2 separate regions of the Homo sapiens genome follow, and region 2 is linked to region 1. The links are contacts of gene promoters, found by promoter capture Hi-C in human tissues and cell types (Jung and others, 2019). All regions are on one chromosome and are shown on one strand. Each heading gives the region's core, a stretch centred on a gene start or on the middle of the fragment in contact. The rest is flanking DNA. Distances are from core to core; before and after follow the strand shown.

Region 1 (3,583 bases), core at 306-2,805:
TTTTCACACCAGGTCTACACTGCTTAAAGCTCTCCTCACCCTTCCAGCTCCTCCCAACCCTTCACCTTCACCGAGTTAATGTTTACTCATGTATCAGATTTCAGGTTAGACACGCTTCCTCCAAGAAGCTTTCGCAGATACACAAGTTAGTATCTGCCCGTACTTCTCTTACATAATACTCTCTATACTTGTTATTGTCATTTGTTTAGTTTTTATTTAGATTAACTTCCATCAGAAGGGCAGAGTAGCTGCTGTAACTTCAGTTACTATAAATGGGCCTGGCACATACTTTGCACTCAATAAATATCTTCTGAAGTAAATGAAATGAATCAATCTTGCTCCTGGGTTTACGTTTCAGTGATTCAAACGGGCATACTTGGTACACAACGTGAGGTCCTGGAAGGTATAACTTGTGTTTTCATTTTTGAATTTCTAAATTCTAGCAGAGTTTTTGGCACACTCTATGCACCCAATAAGCTATCTGAATAAACTTTTCTTGGAACATGAGTGTCTGAATGTCCTGATAACTCCAACACGTTCCCTTCCTGTAATTCCTAAAGCCCAGGAACACTTATTGCCTTCCATCAGTTAGTGAACTACTGATGCTCCAAAATGGGTCACGCCTCCTTCCCCTCCACACCCAACTCGTTTTGTTTTGTTTGTTTTGTTTTGTTAGACGGAGTCTCACTCTATTGCCCAGGCTGGAGTGCAATGGCGCAATCTCGGCTCACTGCAACCTCTGCCTCCCAGGTTTAAGTGATTCTCCTGCCTCAGCCTCCCGCCCGGCTAATTTTTGTATTTCCACCACCACGTCCGGCTAATCTTTGTATTTTTAGTAGAGACGGGGTTTTACCATGTTGGCCAGGCTGGTCCCAAACTCCTGACATCATGATCCGCCGGCCTCGGCCTGCCAAAGTGCTGGGATTACAGGCGGGAGCCACCGCGCCCGGCCCCACACCCCCAACTCTTAGCCCGAAACTCAGACCCCGGGTTTTCGACTATTAAAAGTAGTCACAGGACCGCGACACTGCACTTCAGCCTGGGCAAAAGAGCGAGACTCCCCCTCAAAAAAAAAAGTAGTCACAGAAAACTGAATTAAATTACTGACCTGAAGTAATCGCAAGCAGAGGCGTCCCTGACTGACTTCTATATCCCTCCACCCCAACCCCCTGGGCCCTGCACAGCGGGTGTCTGTTGAATATTCTCCCGGCTGTTGAGCCCAAACCTGATGAGAGGAAAGGCTCGGCTTCCACTCCAAGCCGAGCCTTCCGCTGTTCTTCTGTCCCGGCCCTTGGTGTCCCCTCACGCGGCCCCATTAGGTTACGCGCCCCCGGGGACTCCGCCGCCGCCCCAGCCCGCGCCCCGCGGTCCCACTCACTGTTCTTGAGGAATCGCTCCTCGTGCAGCACTGCGATGGCGTTGACGCAGAGCAGGGCTGCCTGCAGCAGTGAGTACAGGGTAAAGGCCATGGCCGTCCGAGGCCGCCCCGAAGTCCAAGCGATTTCTCTCCCGCCGCCGCAAGGGACGTGGCGCCTCCACGGCCGGCGCCTTCCTACGGAAGCCGATGGGGCCCAAAACGAACTCTCCGGGAAGCCCCGCCTCCATCTGGCTAAGAACCGCCCCTCGCTGAAGACTGCAAGTCCTGCCGCTTGTCTAGACCGGTGATGTGCAATCAATGCTCTGATGTGGCCAGTGCTGCAGGTGCAAAATACACACCGGATTTCACACACTTGGAACTGGAACAAGGATGAAGAATATCCCAATAATTTTTTTTTTTTTGAGATGGAGTCTGGCCCTGTCGCCCAAACTGGAGTGCAGTGGCACGATCTCGGCTCACTGCAAGCTCCGACTCCCGGGTTCACGCCATTCTCCTGCCTCAGCCTCCCAAGTAGCTGGGACTACAGGTGCCCGCCACCACGCCCGGCTAATTTTTTGTATTTTTAGTAGAGACGGGGTTTCACCGTGTTAGCCAGGATGGTCTCAATCTCCTGACCTCGTGATTCCCCCCTCCTCGGCCTCCCAATAATTTTTAAATGTTGATAACATGTTGAAATGAAAATATTTTGAGGCCGGGCGCAGTGGCTCACGCCTGTAATTCTAGCACTTTGGGAAACCGAGGCGGGCAAATCACCTAAGGTCAAGAGTTCGAGACCAGTCTGGCCAACATGGCAAAACCCTGTCTCTACTGAAAATACAAAAATTAGCTGGGTGTGATGGTGGGCTCCTGTAATCCCAGCTACTCAGGAGGCTGAGAGAAGAGAATCACTTGAACCCGGGAGGCAGAGACTGCAGTGAGCCGAGATCCAGCCTGGGTGACAGAGCAAGAGGAAAGAAGGAAGGAAGGGAGGAAGGTTTCTTGTTTATTTTTAATTATTTTATTTAATGTGGTTATGAAGATACTGTAAATGACATGTGACGCTTGCATTATATTTCTATTGCTCAGTACTGCACTTGATGCTCCCAGGAGATACAGGAGATACTAATATTCCCATTTCAGATTTCAGAATGCTAAAACAAAATAACTGTTTTAAAATTACTCAGTGAGAAACATCCCCTCCTTGACCAAACTCCAACCAAGATCCTCTGAGCCTCTTCTTTTTTTTTTTCCCCCCCCAGGAACAGGGTCTTGCTCTGTTGCCCAGGCTGGAGTGCAGTGGCACCATCATAGCTCAATGCAGCCTTCAGCTCCTGGCTCGAGCAGTCCTCCTGCCTTAGCCTCCTGCTTAGCTGTATGTGATGGTTAAGACTGAGTGTCAACTTGATTGGATTGAAGGATGCAAAGTATTGATCCTGGGTGTGTCTGTGAGGGTGTTGCCAAAGGAGATTAACATTTGAGTCAGTGGGCTGGGAAAGACAGGTCCACTCTTAATCCAAGTGGGCACCATCTAATCAGCTGCTGGAGTGGCCAGGATATAAAGCAGGCAAAAAACCAATGAAAAGGGTATGCCAAGACCAGCTCGGTTGGGGAGACCCTAACCCAGCGGTGCTAGAGGAATTAAAGACACACACAGAGGTGTGAAGTGGGAAATCAGGGGTCTTATAGCCTTCAGAGCTGAGATCCCCGAACAAAGATTTACCCACGTATTTATTAACAGCAAACCAGTCATTAGCATTGTTTCTATAGATGTTAAATTAACTAAAAGTATCCCTTATGGGAAATGAAGGGATGGGCCGAATTAATTGCAGCAGGAACACATCCTTAAGACACAGATCTCTCAGGCTTTTGTTTGTGGCTTAAGAATGCCTTTAAGCAGTTTTCCAACCTGGGTGGGCCAGGTATTCCTTGCCCTCATTCCCGTAAACCCACAACCTTCCAGCTTGGGCGTTAGGGCCATTATGGACATGTTATAGTGCTGCAGAGATTTTATTTATGGCCAGTTTTGGGGCTAGTTTATGGCCAGACTGTTGGGGGCTTGCTCTCAACAAGGGTAGACTGGCTTAGCCTCCCAGCCTACATCTTTCTCCCATGCTGGATGCTTCCTACCCTTGAACGTTGGACTTCAAGTTCTTCAGCTTTGGGACTCAGACTGGCTTCCTCAGCTTGCAGACGGCTTATTGTGGGATCTTGTGATCGTGTGAGTTA
Region 2 (3,583 bases), core at 623-3,122, 1.1 Mb after region 1:
ATTTTTCACAGAACTAGAAAAAACAATCCAAAATTCATATGGAACTAAAAAAGAGCTCACATAGCCAAAGCAAGACTAAGCAAAAAGAACAAATCTGGAGGCATCACATTACCCAACTTCAAACTGTACTATAAGGTCATAGTCACCAAAACAGCATGGTACTGGTATAAAAATAGGCACTTAGACCAATGGAACAGAATAGAGAAACCAGGAATAAAGCCACATACTTACAGGCAACTGATCTTTGGCAAAGCAAACAAAAACATAAAGTAGGAAAAGGACACCCTATTCAACAAATGATGCTGAGATAATTGGCAAGCCACATGTAGAAGAATGAAACTGGATCCTCGTCTCTCAGCTTGTACAAAAATCAACTCAAGATGCATTGAAGACTTAAATCTAAGACTCAAAACTGTAAAAATTCTAGAAGATAACATCACAAAAACTCTTCCAGACATTGGCTTAGGCACAGAGTTCATGACCAAGAACCCAAAAACAAATGCAACAAAAACAAGAATAAATAGAAGGAGGCCAAGGTGGGTGGATCACGAGGTCAGGAGATCGAGACCACTCTGGCTAACATGGTGAAACCCCATCTCTACTAAAAATACAAAAAATTAGCCAGGTGTGGTGGCAGGTGCCTGTAGTCCCAGCTACTCGGGAGGCTGAGGCAGAAGAATGGTGTGAACCCAGGAGGTGGAGCTTGCAGTGAGCAGAGATTGCGCCACTGCACTCCAGCCTGGGCGACAGAGTGAGACTCCATCTCAAATAAATAAATAAATAAATATAGATGGGACTTAATTAAACTAAAAAGCATCTGCACAACAAAAGAAATAATCAGAAGAGTAAACAGACAACCCACAGAGTGGGAGAAAATATTTGCAAACTATGCATCCAACAAAGGACTACTATCCAGAATCTACAAGGAATTTAAATAAATCAGCAAGAAAAAAGCAATTAATCCCATCAAAAAGTGGGCTAAGGAAATGAATAGATAATTCTCAAAAGAAGATATACAAACAGCAAACAAACATGAAAAATACTCAACATCACTAATTATAGGGAAATGCAAATCAAAACTATGATGCAATACCACCTTACTCCTACAAGAAGGGCCATAATTTAAAAAATCAAAAAATAATAGATGTTGATGTGGATGTGGTGAAAAGGAACATCTTTACACTGCTGGTGGGAATGTAAACTATTAATACTACAACCACTATGGAAAACAGTGTGGAGATTCCTTAAAAAACTAAAAGTAGATCTACCATCTGATCCAGCAATCCCGCTACTGAGTATCTACTCAGAGGAAAAGAAGTCATTATATGAAAAAGACACTTCTACATGCATGTTTATAGCAGCACAATTCACAATTGCAAAAATACGGAACCAACCCAAATGCCCATCAATCAACAAGTGGAAAAAAAAGTAGTGTGTGTGTGTGTATATATATATACACACACACACACACACACCATGGAATACTATTCAGCCAAAAAAAGGAATTCAATAATGGCATTCACAGCAACCTGGATGGAGCTGGAGACCATTATTGTAAGTGAAGTAACTCAGGAATGGAAAACAAAACATTCTATGTCCTCACTTATAAGTGGAAGCTAAGCTATGAGGATGCAAAGGCATAAGAATGATACAATGGACTCTGGGGACTTGGGAAGGGTGGGAGGGGAGTGAGGGATAAAAGACTACACATTGGGTACAGTGTACACTGCTCAGGTGATGGGTGCACCAAAATCTCAGAAATCACCACTAAAGATCTTATCCATGTAACCAAACAACACTTGTTCCCCTAAAAACCTATTGAAATAAAAAAATAGATCAAGACACCAAAAAAAAAAAAAGAAAAAATGAATTTTCTATGGTATATACGCTCAAGAGTAAAAACATATTTTTTAAGGAATAGAGGAAAAGAAGAAGAAAGTATCTCAAGCATCTTTTTTTCATAAAGTTATTGGAGAATGCGCTCCATCAAAACAAGGGGGCAAACCAAGAAAGGAACAATTTTAGATTCAGGAAACAGGACATCCAAACAGAAGAGAGGATGGGGGAATTCCTAGAATGCTAGAGCCGGTTGAGCCCAGGTTGAGAGCTGTGCTCCAGAAAGCAATCAGACAAAAATGGTCAAAGTATCCAGAGAGATTTCAACAAGGAGATGAAACTGACAGATTGCCTGATGTATTTGAAAGGATTAGGAAGGTATTTATCCAATTAAAGAATGTTGGGGATGGAATTATTAATAAATATATAGAAAACTAAGCATCAGACATACAAACAAAAACAATTATTAATTCCAGAAAACAAAAATTGTGCCTAAATGGAATCATATAGCTCAGGTGTAACTGAAGTACATTTTCACTATAATATACTGTAAATACTAAATTTGGATCTAATCACAATTATGGTATAAAGAGGGAATATGGGAGTGTGTTTCTAGTGTGAATATGGGGTAAAGGGAGCTAAACAGTCATCTTCCATAGCAGGAAGTCAGTTAATAATAAAGCTTAGGCCGGGCGCGGTGGCTCACACCTGTAATCTCAGCACTTTGGGAGGCTGAGGCGGGTGGATCACAAGGTCAGGAGATGGAGATCATCCTGGCTAACACAAATACAAAACGTTAGCCGGGCGTGGTGGCGGGTGCCTGTAGTCCCAGCTACTTGGGAGGCTAAGGCAGGAGAATGGCGTGGACCCGGGAGGCGGAGCTTGCAGTGAGCTGAGATCACACCACTGCACTCCAGCCTGGGCAAGAGAGCGAGACTCTGTCTCAAAAAAAAATAAATAATAAAATAATAATAATAATAATAAAGCTTAAAATAGAAAAATGACAAATAATTGTATACACCTGTTACTTAAAGAAAATGGAAATAAAAAAACACACTTTTTTTCTAAGAAAAAATGTAGTTGTCTCTCGCAAATGGAAAATGAGGTAGGATGGGAAAAGGACTGCTATTTTCTGTAATAACTTTAATTAAACTCTCTGATTCTTTAAATTATAGGCATATCCTGTTAAACTAAATATGTTAGTTTTTAACATATCCTGTTAAAAACTAAAACTTAAAAGGATGAGACACCATATCGTACTTGAGGTTGTGATGCTGGCGAAATCATCATCAGGTGCTTTGACACCCCCCATCCCATGCCCCCAACAACCACCACATGCACACACACCCTGGCCTCTGCCCCACAGCTCTCTGGACCACAGTCAGGGCAGGACCAAGTCAGGGATAGAGGGGGCTAGACTGAGCGGACCATGAGCACAGATAGGTCATAGAAGAATAGCAGTGTATTCAATGATATATACACTAAAATTATACCATGACAAAGTGGGATTACCCCAGGGTTGCAAGCAAGTGTTGCCTCATATAAGGGGTTCTATTAATATGCTACACCACATCAAGACGCTAAGCAGGAAAAGCATCTTATAATTTTAGTGCATACTTGACAGGTATTTTATAGAAATCAACAATCATTCCTAATAAAAATTTCAGAACTAGAATTAAAAAGAATTCCGGTTAACAGCATAGAGCATCCATATTTAAATTAGCAATAATTCCTCTACATTCAGAAT

The links. Contacts are between HindIII fragments. The study calls those that stand out against the background at their distance.
Region 2: a fragment that was not itself captured here is called in contact with the fragment with the promoter of IER3IP1 in region 1 in 1 of the 25 tissues and cell types used here (hippocampus).

Annotation. Positions count from the first base shown.
Region 1 is chr18:47,174,809-47,178,391 of GRCh38, forward strand. IER3IP1 (immediate early response 3 interacting protein 1) reads right to left here and starts at 1,556. Exons shown (of 3, transcript NM_016097.5): 1 at 1,379-1,556. The coding sequence starts at 1,469. RefSeq lists enhancers at 1,465-1,584, 1,595-1,724. The HindIII fragment of the contact is 11,428 bases long and covers 1-3,583 here.
Region 2 is chr18:48,243,649-48,247,231 of GRCh38, forward strand. All of the region lies in intron 2 of ZBTB7C (zinc finger and BTB domain containing 7C), which reads right to left. Among named protein-coding and RNA genes, the nearest start is that of ZBTB7C-AS2, 6.9 kb to the right of the region's middle. The HindIII fragment of the contact is 4,276 bases long and covers 1-3,583 here.